5 separate regions of the Homo sapiens genome follow, and regions 1, 2, 4 and 5 are each linked to region 3. The links are contacts of gene promoters, found by promoter capture Hi-C in human tissues and cell types (Jung and others, 2019). All regions are on one chromosome and are shown on one strand. The core of a region is centred on a gene start or on the middle of the fragment in contact, and the rest is flanking DNA. Distances in the headings are between cores, read along the strand shown. Region 1 overlaps LAMA3 (laminin subunit alpha 3). Region 2 holds the start of ANKRD29 (ankyrin repeat domain 29). Region 3 holds the start of CABLES1 (Cdk5 and Abl enzyme substrate 1). Region 4 overlaps LAMA3 (laminin subunit alpha 3). Region 5 holds the start of TTC39C (tetratricopeptide repeat domain 39C).

Region 1 (2,731 bases), core at 48-2,547, 690 kb before region 3:
TTCTCACTTATAAATGGTAGCTAAGCAATGGGTACATATGGACATACAGAGTGTAATAACAGACACTGGAGACTATGAAAAGTGGAGGGATGGGAGGGGGTGTTGAAAAAGTACCTATTAGGTACAATGTTCACTATTTGGGTGATGGGTACACTAGAAGCCCAGACTTCACCACTATGTTATATATGCATATAAGAAACTTGTACTTGTACCCCTAAATATATAAAACTAAATAAATTTTTAAAAGAAGCTATGGAATTTGGGAACCAAAAATCAAATATGTGGCCTCATGACCAAGAACTGAGCTATGCCATTCATGGGGTCAATGTCTGAATCTCCTATCTTCAGTGTCATAACAATAGAGAAGGCACACTGTAATGCCTGCTCCTGGGCTAAGGATCCAGTGGACAGCTAAGACAATGCAAAATTAGCAGGCTGAAACAGATGCGAAAGAAGGAGAGGATAAAAACCTCTCATTCAAAATAAGCCAATATGCCTGTAAACAAAATTCAAAACACATAAATTGAATATTAAGAAAGACAGGTAACAAAATAATCAGAGATGAGTTCACTTCAGATGAGGTGAATTTTATGGAATAGTCTGAGAAAGACTTTAAATATACTGGCCCATGATCTGAAATCCCCAAACTCTGAAAAGGAAATAGGTTTTGTAACTGTTTTGGTGGCAAACCTAACCTAACCAATAATCATTTGCTGGCAAAGTCTGAACTAAACTGATATAAGTCTATGTATATAGTCAGTTAGTGTCTCCCTAGGTGTGCCTATTCATGCTTTTCACTGGAGAAATATTAACCTGTTTGATTATAGGGTATTATCCCAGACCTCACTGGAGATGTTATCTTTTTTCAAATCTTAAAAATTTTGAATTCTGAAATACACCTGGCTCCAAGGCCTTTAGGATACTAAAAAAGCTAAATGAAGAAGTAACTTCCACTTAAAAGTACATGAAGTTTTGAAACAAAAACTGGCAGAAAAGACAAGAAAAAATAAATATGATAAAGAGCCAATTGAAAAGTTTTAAAAGTATAAATTAAACTGAATCAATAAGCTGGATAATTTCTAGACCAGAGATAGTGAAATAAAATATTTCCGTATTGTAAAAGAGCCTTGAGGTCCTGCTGACTAGCTCTGTGCTATAGCTCTGGGTTAAATCAGAGGTTAGAACCTCCTAGATGAGTCATCAGCATCACTTCCTGGTGGTTGCCCCTTCTCAACGGTACCTCTTGTTGTCTAGGGAACACACACACACAAATACACACACACATACATATACCTGTATATGTACGTGTATGTGCATTTTATGTATATATGTATGTATGTACACCTATATACATGTATGTGTGTATGTGTGTATACACACATAGCATGTGTAGGGAGGGATACAGCAAACTTAGTATTAGAATGAAGTAGAGGGAAGATCATTTAGGTTTTTTATGCATATCTATATTGTTTTACTTGTTACAAGTAAATATTATTTCGTAGCATGAAAATTCAAATAAAATGAAGACTTTACTTAAGAAATATACTTAAAAACCTTTAACTGCTACCTTCAAAATGTTAGAAATGTAGTTTACAAAAATGTACACATCTAAAAGTTCAGTTACAATTAACTCCACATATATTTTCATCCCACAAATTTAATCCCCCAAATGAATATTTTCCTCAAAAGGACAAAACAGAGAATGTTACAGAGAGCAAAGAATAAAAATATAGTGGAGGAAGTCTTTCAGTGTCTTCATTTTGAAGTGTTGTGTATTCTTATTGTTATGGTTGATATCCTATAGCTCTAACTCGAATCTGAAATCAGTATGATCTTAAATTTGGTTCTGAAGTTCGAAGAACTCCTGGAAGAAAAGTAATACCAAGACCTGTAGTAACCTGTCCTCCAAGCCATGAGGTAGGTGCCAGGGGATGTAGAAGTTCCGGATTCTGAGCTCAAGGAATTCAGCTGCTACAAATTGCTTAGCCTAAGGGGTTGAACAGTCAGTGAGTGTGGTATCCTTTTAGGGTAAGCTGTGTCATTTCTGGACGCTTACTAGATTGAGTCTCATCTGTCTTTTAAGAGAAATCTTGCCCTGAATCATGTAGAACAGGATGCCCCCTTCTAAGTCCAGATAACCAAAAAGAAAGGATTCTATAGATGCCCACATCCCCTGCCATGTCTAGAAAGTGCTCAAAGAACAACCTGAACATGGCTCCATGTAGCGTACCATCCAGCCCCACCCTAAATCAGATAGTTCAGCAAATGTTGATAAACACCTCTGAGAAATTCTTCCAGGTTCCCCTGAATTTGAGAAGCAACTGTGGCCAAGTATTTTTAGCAGATACAGATGGGGAGGTAGTAATAACTTTGATAATAAATAAAAGGCTGGCCCACCTCTCTCCCGCTGAGGTCCACCATGACAGGGTGTGCAGGTGTGGGCTGCCTCACTGCCACGGGTCTTGGCTCCCCATCAAGCAGGAAGTGTCTGGCCTCACAAGCCAGGGTACAGGGGAATCTGGTCACTGGCAAATGCTGGTAGAGTAAGCAACTTCAACAACAGCAACAACAATGGAATCAATAGTTACAACTGAGAACATCAAACGGAATATCAAAGTACATCCCCAAAGACTCTCAGTCATTCAGTTCACTCATTCATTCATCATCCTTCAATAAACTCTTATTAAGTGTCTGCTACAAGAATTAAGCAATAAATTTTCATCTGCATGGG
Region 2 (2,857 bases), core at 265-2,764, 530 kb before region 3:
GGGGTGGAGGTTGCAGTGAGCCAGGATCATGCCACTTCACTTCAGCCTGGGCAAAAGAGCGAAACTCCATCTGAGAAGAAAAAACAAACAAACAAACAAAAAACTATTAAAGCAAAACCTCTGATGCTTGATTTTTATATAATAACGTTGTGTGGCAACTTAAAAACTGTGTCATTTATAGGCACTCAAGGCAAGGAAAATGTTTAGAGTCCTTATTTTTAAAATTGGAATTTTCTATAAAAGTTCAGAATGTTTTTAATTTAAAGTTGTTTTAAGCACAAAGTAATACAATTTATCCATGAAGGTTAAACATTTTAATTTTTATCATTAACTTTTATTTGTAATTGTTTTCTACCTTTTAAATTAAATATTCGTTACAAATTTAATTGAGAAGAGGGAAGGAGGGGGAGAATGAATGAGTGGATTCTTATAGTTTGAGGGGGTAAGACCTCCATTTTTATACTATTTTTTTGTTTTGTTTTTATTTTTATTTTTGAGGCAGAGTCTTGCTCTGTTGCCCAGGCTGGAGTGCAGTGACCGAATCTTGGCTCACTGCAGCCTCAACCTCCCAGGTTCAAGCGATCCTCCCACCTCAGCCTCCCGAGTAGCTGGGACTACAGGTGCGCACCACCACGCCTGGCTAATTTTTGTATTTTTAGTAGAGATAGAGTTTTGCCATGTTGGCCAGTCTGATCTCGAACTCCTGGACTCAAGTGATCTGCCCGCCTTTGGCCTCCCAAAGAGTTGGGATTATAGGCGTGAGCCACTATGCCTGGGCTACTTTTTTACTTTCACTTTTCTAAAATGCTCTCAAAGAGCTGTTGTTGCCGTTTATACTTAAAACTCCCAGTTTTACTTCGCCCAAACCAATCCTGGGCAGGCAGCAGGAGTGGACACACATACTGCAATACTCCAGGGCTGCAGCATCAGACCCAGAGGAGGAGGGAACTGCTGGATTAATAACGCGGAGGAGGAGGAGGGGTATGAGTCTATTCCAAAATTGGCCTTTGCCCTTCAAAGAGGAAAAGACCACTTATTGTTTGTGCAATCAAAAGGTTTGTTTCCTAGATATTTTCCCCAGGAGAAAAAAGTTTCCCAGGAAACCGAGAAAGAAATTATAACGAAAATAGCTATTGGATGAATTTTTTCCTCAAGCTTCATTTTTACATCATTATAATATTTGTGCTGTAATGAAGGTTGGGAGTCCTCTGGGGCAGACCAGTCTATTTGGGAGGATATGTATGGAGTTTGTGTGTGAGTACATGCGGGTGAGTGGGCGTGAGTGTGGAAAGTATGTGTGTGGAACCTCTGTGTGTGTGGAATGTGGAGCGTATGCACAATGTGTGTGGAGTTTGGAGTGTGTGTGTGGACGAGTGAGTGTGGAAGTGTGGACGTGTGTGGAAAGTGCACAGTGCGTGCGGAGTTTGGGGTGTTTGTGCACGCGCGTGTGTGGCAGGTCCTGGAGCGCGTCCACGCGACACCCCATGTGTAGTGTGCGCGCGCGCGCGCCCCCGCGCCGCCCCTTCGGCCCGGCCCTGTGTGCGGCGGCTGCTGCCGGGCCGGGCGGCGGGAGCGCGCGGCGTCGGAGGCCGCCCCTCTGCGGAACGCCGAGAGCCCCGGGAGAGTGAAGGGCCGGGGAGGACAAGGCGCCCCGGGCCCAAAGCGCGCCGGCTCCCGCTCGGGCGGCCGCGGACATGTGCAGGATGTCCTTCAAGGTGAGCGACCGGGACTCCGGGGTCAGGGCTGGGGCCGGGCTCGGGCGGCCGGGCCCGCGGGGTCGGGTGGGGTGGGATGGGGTGGGATGGGGTGGGCGCTGCCCGCTGCCCGCCGCCTCCTCCTTCCTCTCTCCTCCAGCTGCGGGCGAGGCCCGGGAGGAAGCGGCGGGGCTGGGTGCGCCCTGTGGGTTTGCGGTTTGCCTGCCTGCCCTGCCTGAGAGGCTTCGCACTCATGGCTGTGGATCGGCTGAGTCTGTGCCCGGCGACGGGGCGGCGGGGACTGTCGCCGGGTAACAGGTCGGGGGCGGGTAAGAAGCCTGGGGTCAGCGCTGTCCTGCAGCAGAAGGAGTCCCCGACCCTGACCCTCTGGGTCCTCATGCAGGAGTACCAGCTGCACCCACGGATGCCTCCTCCCCGGAGGGGTGGCCAGCACCCAGGGAGGCTTCAGGGTCCAAAGGTGTCTTGTCTCAAAAGAGTTGATTAAAGTCATTCCATCTAATCCCCACATTTTAGGATGAAAGAGGTTGATTTGCCTCGATTGAAAGGGTTTAATAAAAATAGCAGTTAAAATGTATTAAACAGTTCAAATGTGCCTGACTCTGAACCAAGGACATGGTGTGTATGGTCTCAACCCTGGGGGAGACCTGTGGGAGGTGCTCTTCGTGGCTCTTTTTTTTTTTTTTTTCAAATGAGAAAACTAAGATATAGAGAAATTAACTCACCCACGGTTTTGCAGCCAATAAGTTATGGTGTTAAGACTGAAACCCAAGTGTGTCTGACTCCTAAGCCACTGTAATCCCGTTGCCGACAATAGCTCATGTAAGCAGAGGAGTGACATGGCGAGATGTGCATGTTGCAAAGATCTCTGGCTAGGTTTGGAGAAGAGGGTTGGAGCTGGAAGATGTTGTCATCTTTTTAAGAAATGGTACTGGACCAGTGCATAGGTGGTGAGAATGGAACGAAGCAGACGAATGTGAATGACTTTAAAGTTTTTTTTCCTGAGACGGAGTTTTGCTCTTGTTGCCCAGGCTGGAGTGCAATGGTGTGATCTCAGCTCACTGCAACTTCCGCCTCCCGGGTTCAAGCTATTTCTCCTTCCTTACCCTCCAGAGTAGCTGGGATTACAGGCGTGCGCCACCATG
Region 3 (2,700 bases), core at 168-2,667:
CTCGGACGCCGCTTTCTACTGGGCTCCTGCAACTCCCAATTCCCGACCCACTGCACAAGCGCGGTGCTCCTCTGCGAATGCTGGGCTCGTGCAAACACGTGTAACCCCGCACTCCCTGGGGACGCCCCCTCTTTTGGGTGCCCTCGTGGTTTGGGATTCGGGCCCGGAGCACAGGATCCGGCAGGGCGCGGGAAAATGGGAGCAACCCGTGTCCCGTAGCCCAGAGACCGCGGGGAGGCTGGGAGCGCCGGGCGGGACGCAGGGTTGGGTGCGCGTCGCATCCCGGATACTCACCGGGACCTCTGCAGCTGCTCGAAGGCGCTGGTGCTGCCGCCCTGGCCTGGCTGCTCCAGGGAGCAGTAGTTCTGCGAAGTCGGCCTGGAGAAGGCGATGGGCAGGATTCCCTGAGTGAACGAGTTGAGGCGTCCCCGACTGCCGCTCCCACTCCCGGGGGTCCCGGAGCCCAAAAAGGCGGCCGCCGGCACCTGCACGCTGATAAAGGCATCGTCCTCCTCCAACTCCTCCTGCCCGGCGGCCCCGGACCCGTCGAGCAGCTGCAGTTGGGCACAGGCGGCGAGAGGCGCCGGCCGGGGCGGCTGCCACTGCTCCCCCGACGCCCGGCCGGCGCCCAGGGGACTCGCGAACCCCCGCGCCACCCCGGGGCCGGACACGGTCGCATGGCCGCCAGGAATCAAGGGCGGCAGCGACGAGGGCTGTGGGAGGCAGGGGCCGGACCCAGCGGCTAACCCCGCAGCCGGCGTGCCCGGCGCGGCGAGCGCGATGCAGCCGCCCCGCTCGGCAGCGGCGAGCAAGCTGAACCGAGTCCTCGCGCCGCAGGCGCCGCCGGCGCCCGGCTTGGCCGCGCCGCCCTCCTCGCCACCGCCCCACTCCGCGTCCTGCGGCGGCAGCCGGCCGTCCAGCGAGATGTTGGTGAGGAAGGAGAGGGCAGCCTGGCGGCGCCGCGGGTCCATGCGCGGCTTCCGGGGGGGTTCGGGCGGCGGCTGGGCCGGCGCGGCGGCCGCGGGCTGAGGCTGGGGCTGCGGCGGCGGCTGCTGCAATCCGCTGGCGCCCGCGGCGTCGGTGCCGGCGCTGCCGCTGCTGCAGGCGGCCGTGGTGGCGGCCGCCGCCGCCGCCGCCATTGTGTCCGTCTGCGGCGGGATTTCCGCGATGCCCGGAGAAGCGAGCGGCGCCCGAGCGCTAAGCGGCGGGCGCGAGCGGCGGCGACCCGGGCTGGGTAGGGCGCGGGGATCGGGCGGCGTGCGCGGCGGTCCAGCCCCCCCGCGGGCGGGCCATGCTCGCCCCTCGGTGCTGGGGATGGGGGCGCCGCCGCCCCGGCCCACGCGCACGCCTCGCTACCTAGCTCGGCTAGTTCGGCTCGCTGGCTGGCCGCCCGCCGGTCGCCTGGCCGCTGGCTCGCGGGCTCCGGGGCCGGGTGTCCGTATTTATAGGTGCGCGCGCCCCGCGCTCGCGCTCCAAAGCCCTCTTTGCAATAACACGGAATCACGTGTGGGGAATGCGACCTGGGAGGAAAACAAAGCCGCAGGCGGCGGCCGCAGAGGCAGACGGCGGGAGGCAAGGGGCCACGGGAGGAGGAAGAGGAGGACGCGAGAGCCGAGCGGGTGGTGGGGCGGGGGATCGGCCCGGCTGTCCGGGTTGTCGGAGCTGCCTGCTGGGAGAGTTGGCGACTCCCGGGGCCGCGGAAGCCAGGTGCGGGAGGCGAGCACGTTTCCCCCGCGCGCTCGCACTGGGAATTGGGTGAGCGAGCAGAACCCGGTGGGTTAGGTCCTGGGGCTGTGCTCCTGGGAGAGTTGTGGGTCTACAGGACGGTTATGTGGAGCGTTGCAGAGTTTTGGACTGCGAGCGAGTTACTTGGACCCCGCAAGGCCGTTGGTCCCCGAGAAGTAAATAGATCCTTTTCATAATAACACGGGTAAGTCCACAGCCCCTATGGAGACTGTCCCACCGTAAAGCTATCGCTAACAACCATTGCAGTTGGGTCTATTCATTCCCAGGCCAAGGATGCAGCCCCCGGGATAAATGCACGCCTTGGGATGCATAAGAGCCCAGAAGCACGAACATCTTACATGTGGCCAACGAACTCACGCATCCCCAATCCATGGTATTGTCACTTTTCATCTCTCTCTTAGCAAAGGACAACGCAAATTTTTTACTTTGGCTCTGAAATGTGCTCCATTTTCTGTGAAGACCCAGGTGGGCTAAAATGACCTTACACTCTTTTCCCCTGGTCACCTTGCAAATTTTTGTAGATTATGATCTCTTCTCCCTCATAAACTGGGACCAATGTGGACAGTTACCCTGTCGTTTATCTCATAAGCACGTTTGGCACCTACCATGTCTTCTATAAATACGGGTTCCTGACGGCCCTCCCAGAGCAGTAGCTCTGAATCTGGGAGGAGTCGCAGTCCCCACCCACAACGAATGCTTGTTTTGGTTGGGGGTGGGGGCGGGGGCGGGGACAGGGTGGAGGAGTTCACCTGGAGGGATCTGAAAACGTGTGCGGGTTTCCCCAGGCGGTATGGGCAACTTAACAAATGCAGTAAGGAACAATTGCCACACTGAATTAAGCTCTGTGACACCTAAGAAACCTGCTGCACTTTTGAGGGAGAAGCAATGTGTTTCAGATCAACGGATTAATTTAATTAAAGGTTTAAATTTAGCCCTGGAGCTAATGGGTAACTC
Region 4 (2,853 bases), core at 10-2,509, 570 kb before region 3:
GGAAAGGCAAAATGAGACAAACAGACCTATCGGACAGAACAGGCAGCCCATGCATTTAAGAAGCTTTAGTATATAACATAGGTGGTATGTCAGACCGCTGGGAAAGGAAGGAATATTCTAGATCCAGGGGGAAATAATAAAATCAGAGTTCTACTCAAGTCGCAAATGCAATTCAACTTCAGATGAAGTAAGGACTTATATGTGAAAAATAAAACTTCAAACTCTCATAGTAGAAAAAAAGGTGTCTACCTTTTAGAACTGAGAGCAAGGAAAGGTTTCTTAACCAAAGATACAAAAAGCGTTGACTACAAAAGAAGAGATGGATAAATCTGACTATGTTAAAATTAAGAATTTTGCTTCCTTTAGCTGGGCATGGTGGCACATGCCTGTAACTGAGACACGGGAATTGCTTGAGCCTGGGAGGTGAAGGTTGCAGTGAGCTGAAATTGCACCACTGCGCTCCATCCTGGGCGACAGAGCAAGACTCTGTCTCAAAAAAAAAAAAAAAGAATTTTGTTTCCTTGAGCCCAGGGAGTTGGTGACAGCCTGAGCAACATAGTGAAACCTTGTCTCTACGAAAAATAAATAAATAAATAAATAAAATATGTATAAAGAAGTTTGCTTCATCAAAGACACCTTTAAAAAGTGAAAAGTTAAAACTAGAAGATATTTACAATGCAAAAGTGATAAATAGTCTCCAATGATGACTGCCATCAATTCCTTCTCTCTCTCTCTGTGCCTGCCATTTCACCCATCAAAAGGTGGATGCTGTTTGCCCTGGAGGCTAGTCTCTGCTCTTGAATCCAGACTGACTTGATTGTTTGCTTTGTTATAGCAGATGTGTCATTCTGGGACATTCAAGCTTAGGCCTTAAAAGGGCTAGAAGATTCTGCTTCCTTCCTCTTGGAAGCCAGCAGGCAAGAAGTCCAACCACCCAGAATCACCATTCTGTGAGAAAGTCCAAAATAGCCAACTGGAGAGGACAAATGGGAGAGCACCAAGCTACCTTGTATGTTAGCGAGGCCTTCTTAGGCCATCCAGTCCATCCTAGCCACCAGCTGAATGCAACTAAGTGAGTTACCCCAACTGACAACCCATGGAGCAGAAGAATCAACCAGCTGAACCCAGTCAACCCACAGAATTGTGAGAGAAAAAACTGTTTTTGTTTTTGTTTTTTTTGAGACGGAGTTTCACTCTTGTTGCCCAGGCTGGAGTGCAATGGTGCGATCTTGGCTCACTGCAACCTCTGCCTCCAGGGTTTAAGTGATTCTCCTGCCTCAGCCTCCTGAGTAGCTGGGATTACAGGCATGTGCCACCACGTCCAGCTAATTTTGTATTTTTAGTAGAGACGGGGTTTCTCCATGTTGGTCAGGCTGGTCTCGAACTCCTGACCTCAGGTGATCCGCCCACCTTGGCCTCCCAAAGTGCTGGGATTACAGGTGTGAGCCACCGCACCTGGCCAAAACTGTTGTTGTTTTAAGCCCCTAAGTTTTGGGGGTAGTTTATTACACAAGAATCAATAACTGATCAAAGAACTTAAAATCAACGAAGAACTCTCAACAGAAATACATACCAAATTCCTAACAATCCTACAAATCAATAAGAAAAATATAAATAGTTCAATGGGAAAACGGGCAAAAGTAGGCATTTCACAGAAGAGGAAACACATATAAACACAATAAACATAATAAGCATTTCAAGAAATGTTCACCATCACCATCATTAGTGATCAAGGCAGACCACAATGCAATATTATTTTATACGTATTCAGTAGACCCAAGTTTAAAGTTTGATGATAACCAGAGTTAGAAAAGACATAGTAGGAGTATAAATTGGTACAAAAACTTTGGAAACTGTTTTAGTATTACCACCTAAAGTTGAAATTCACATTTCCTATGATACGGCATTCTACTCTCAAACTCATAAACCAAAAAGAAACTCTTGCACAAATTTGATGGTATTATATTCAACACTATTCACAGCAGCACTGTTCATAAGAGCAAAATCCTGGGAATAACCTAATTGCCCAGCCACAGGAGGGTGGATGAACTAACAGTGGTATATTCACACAATTAATAACTATATAAGCAATAATGAGTAAATGAATATATACAATGAAACAATATGGATGAAACAATATTGATGAATCTCAGCAATATAATATTAAGTGAAAAAAGCATGATATACTTTTTATAAAGTTATGAGCAAGCAAAATAAAAAGCACCTACTTTTTCGAAATACGTACAGATGTAATAAAAACTATACTAAAAAAGCAAAGTATTAATAAAAGATTTGGGATGATTATTTCCCCAGAATGTAAGAGACAGAGGGAATGGGGGTGGGCAGACCATACATTTAGACATAAATTATTATCCAAGCTCTATGTTTGGTTTTGGTAGCAAGTTCATGAATGCTTATTACTATTTAAAATACATATATAGGCCAGGCACAGTAGCTCACACCTGTAATCCTAGCACTTTGGGAGGCCAAGGTGGGAGGATTGCTTGAGCTCAGGAGTTCAAGACCAGCCTGGGCAACATGGTGAAACCCCGTCTCTACAAAAAATACAAAAATTAGCTGGGCATGGTGGCATGCATCCCAGCTACTTGGGAAGCTGAGGTGGAAGGATTACCTGAGCCTGGGAAGTCGAGGCTGCAGTGAGCCATGATTGCATCACTGCACTACAGCCTGGGTGATGGAGTGAGACCCTGTCTCAAATATATGTGTATGTGTGTGTGCATATGTGTGTATGTGTATATATATATGCATATATGTCTGTGTGTGTGTGTGTGTGTGTGTGTGTGTGTATGTCATGATAATACATTCCCGAGCTGGGTCTCTTCCCATACATCT
Region 5 (2,772 bases), core at 166-2,665, 880 kb before region 3:
TCCTTCTCTCATACGACACAAACTGGTAGTCTAAAAAAGGAATCATAGCACGGTACAGGAAATATTCACACCTTTTTTCCTGAGGGCTTCTTAAAAACTACAAAAGAGAAATTGTGTGACAAGTAAACCTTTTAAATCCCCCATCAACAGCCTTTGATGAAACTCCATCTTGAAACCAGACCTGTATGCTTTAAAAATGAAATGTTCTAAGTAAAGCGAAGTTGTTTTTACTTTCAGACCAAAGGGGGGAAAAAATCACCGATTTAAAAGTAAAAGGGCTTTAGTGAAAAGTTCACAGTTGTGAGATACTTGCTTCGCCATTAAGAAGGTGGAAGCTCTGCTGGGTAGAAACCACCATTCTCTGAGGTCTGAGACTTTAGGCATTCTCATTCTTACAGACTCTGTCTCCCGGTCACAGTTGTACATTGGTCCTCTCATTCCAACCAAACTACAGGGTCTCCATAGCGTGAAGCATGTGGTCCTTAAACGTGTTGGGGAAAGCTGCTAATCAACGTCCTTAAGGCTCGTCAACAATCAGACGGCAAATCACAAACTTGCTTCCTCAACCCGAGAACAAACACTCCAGGTCCCCAAAGAAATGAAGGTTCCTTCCACTCCCACAGGAAAACTACCAGGTTTCAGTTCTTTCGCTTTATTTTTTAAAAGACAAATAAAAAATTAACTGAACACACGTGTTTTCCTACCATTCTCATACTTTTTAAAAATCCCTCCATTTTCTTCCTTCCTTTATTTACGTTGGAAAAATTCTTAATAAATAACGCCTGCTTGAAAGACATCAGGAACTCATTTTGAGGACTGAGTTTGCAGAAGACAAGGCAGAGAGATGAGTGGGCAGAGTTGAGCTGAAATTTTTAAATTCCTGCACGGCAAAGCAATTGTGCGTATCTGTTTTCAAACAATAAAAGCGTCTGGAATTGCACAATGTTGCAGAGCCATGCGAGGCGCGAGGAGCAGGCAGCCGGAGGGCTCCGTGTCACAAAGGCTGCCGGGGCAGCACGCGAGCCAGAGTCACGACAAGCCCGGGTCCCAGGCTCGCTGCTGCCTCAAATCTCATCCGGTCCCAAAGCCAGCTGCCCTGCAGAGAGGAGCCTACCGGCACCGGGCACGTCTGTGGGAGGGCGAGGCTGGGAGAAAGTGAGAGGGGGACTGCGGGCGCGCGGGGCGGGCGCGCGGCGGGTCCCGGGAGGGAAAGGACAACGGAGCCGGGGGTAGGGGGTGGACGAGGAGATGTGGCAGAGGCGCATTCCCTCTGGCTGATCTTGCCAGGGAGGAGACCTGAGGACCGGAATCGGTGACCGACAGGAGGGGGAGGGGGCTCCCGGGGGCCGCAGGTCGAGGCGCGTGAGCCGGACACGAGGTGCGCGCTGCAGGGTTGGGGAATCGGGGACGCGTGGGTCACCTGTATTGTTTGAAAAGCTGGTCCGACTCCCTGAAGCCGTTGTTGAGCAGCATGTTGATGCCGGCCAGGGCCAGCTCCGCGTCCTGCAGGGGCGCCGCCGCCGCCGCTGCCGCGTCCGAGTCTCCGTCGTCCCGCCGCCGCGGCCGCTGCTGCTCCGAGCCGGCCATGGGCGTGCGAGGCCCTGCGCTGGGCCGAGGCGAGATCGGGAGCAGCTGCTGCGGCCCCGCGCGCGCCCGGAGCCCGGCTCTACCTGCCCGGAGCCAAGCGGAGCCGGGAGGGGAGGGGAGGGGAGGGGAGAAGACGGGAGGGAAGAGGAGGGAAGGACCGCGGAGGGAGGAGCCGCGGCCCGGCTGCGGCGCGGCGTGGGAGGTGGGCGTCCGGCCGCCGCCGCGGGGATTACTCAGCAGCACCCGCCCGCTCCTCTCGCGCCCTCCGAAGCACCCAACTCGCGCGGGCCCCGAAGCGGAATCCGTTTCCGGGTGTCTCTCACCCCGCCAAGCCGGTCCCCGAGCGGCGGCCGCCTCCACTTCCTGCAGCCCCCGCGCCCCGGCCCCTCCCGGGTCCCCAAGCCGCGCCTTCGCCCACCGCCCAGGACTGCTCGGACACACGCACGCGAGACCCGGAGACCCGAGCGCCCCACCCTCCCCCGAAGGGGCCGGACCCAGGAGTCGGGAGGAGGGCAAGGCGCGGAGGGAGAACGAGCGTGCGGATGTGGAAGGAAAGGGAAAGGGAAGGGGAACTCCGCCCGGGCCGCTATGCTAGCGCGCGGCGCTTTGTCCACGAGTAACTGAAACTCCACGAGTAACTGAAACCCCACGCAGCCCGCGCCCGCGACCCCAGACTTCATCCCGACCCTGGGGCCGCCCCCTAGGACCAGGGCAGCCAATTCCCGAGGAGGTGGGCGGCGGGGGCGGGGTCTCTGGCACCTGCCCCGCAGCTCCCCGGAGCCCCGCGCTGCGGGACTGCAAGGCAGAGCCCCTCGGATCCCGGTACCACCCACTCCAGCCCGCCACCAACATTTGCGCAGTGGGGCAGGAGGAGAAATGGAGGCCTATATGCCATGTGCCCAAATATTTAAAAGTTATAAATTCAGCTGCCAAAGTGTGTTCTATTCTCACACTGCCAATTATTCTTGCAAAGCTTTGGCGTTCATATGACCAAATGTCAGCAAAACATCAAAAGTGACTGAATTTAACCATTATCACAGAAGTCTCACTGTTCTGATGATGGGCTGGTGATATCTGGATGCCTAATATTCTAGAGACAAGCAATTCATAAATCATCTTTATGTTTTTTCCACAAATTTATTTTTCTCTAATTTAGCAAAATCCCTTAATGTAGTGTTGCAATCA

Evidence for each region. The method cuts DNA at HindIII sites, captures the fragments that hold promoters and counts their contacts. A contact is called where the count stands out against the background at its distance.
Region 1: a fragment that was not itself captured here is called in contact with the fragment with the promoter of CABLES1 in region 3 in 1 of the 25 tissues and cell types used here (dorsolateral prefrontal cortex).
Region 2: the fragment with the promoter of ANKRD29 here is called in contact with the fragment with the promoter of CABLES1 in region 3 in 1 of the 25 tissues and cell types used here (psoas muscle).
Region 4: a fragment that was not itself captured here is called in contact with the fragment with the promoter of CABLES1 in region 3 in 1 of the 25 tissues and cell types used here (IMR-90 fibroblasts).
Region 5: a contact is called between a fragment that was not itself captured here and the fragment with the promoter of CABLES1 in region 3, in 1 of the 25 tissues and cell types used here (lymphoblastoid cells).

The regions. Positions count from the first base shown.
Region 1 is chr18:23,827,134-23,829,864 of GRCh38, reverse strand. It overlaps LAMA3 (laminin subunit alpha 3), which reads right to left. Exons shown (of 75, transcript NM_198129.4): 23 at 2,398-2,551. Among named protein-coding and RNA genes, the nearest start is that of LAMA3, 140 kb to the right of the region's middle. The HindIII fragment of the contact is 6,884 bases long and covers 1-2,731 here.
Region 2 is chr18:23,661,568-23,664,424 of GRCh38, reverse strand. It overlaps ANKRD29 (ankyrin repeat domain 29), which reads left to right and starts at 1,514. Exons shown (of 10, transcript NM_173505.4): 1 at 1,514-1,715. The coding sequence starts at 1,695. The HindIII fragment of the contact is 14,259 bases long and covers 1-2,857 here.
Region 3 is chr18:23,134,202-23,136,901 of GRCh38, reverse strand. It overlaps CABLES1 (Cdk5 and Abl enzyme substrate 1), which reads right to left and starts at 1,417. Exons shown (of 10, transcript NM_001100619.3): 1 at 295-1,417. The coding sequence starts at 1,139. RefSeq lists silencers at 549-798, 899-1,108, 1,239-1,448, 1,569-1,648, 2,409-2,518 and 2 more and an enhancer at 2,069-2,218. The HindIII fragment of the contact is 17,284 bases long and covers 1-2,700 here.
Region 4 is chr18:23,705,405-23,708,257 of GRCh38, reverse strand. The region is part of intron 1 of LAMA3 (laminin subunit alpha 3); the gene reads right to left. Among named protein-coding and RNA genes, the nearest start is that of LAMA3, 17 kb to the right of the region's middle. The HindIII fragment of the contact is 4,278 bases long and covers 1-2,853 here.
Region 5 is chr18:24,013,687-24,016,458 of GRCh38, reverse strand. TTC39C (tetratricopeptide repeat domain 39C) reads right to left here and starts at 1,705. Exons shown (of 14, transcript NM_001135993.2): 1 at 1,421-1,705. The coding sequence starts at 1,587. TTC39C-AS1 (TTC39C antisense RNA 1) reads left to right here and starts at 999. Exons shown (of 6, transcript NR_110796.1): 1 at 999-1,155. RefSeq lists silencers at 1,289-1,468, 1,549-2,468. The HindIII fragment of the contact is 6,499 bases long and covers 1-2,772 here.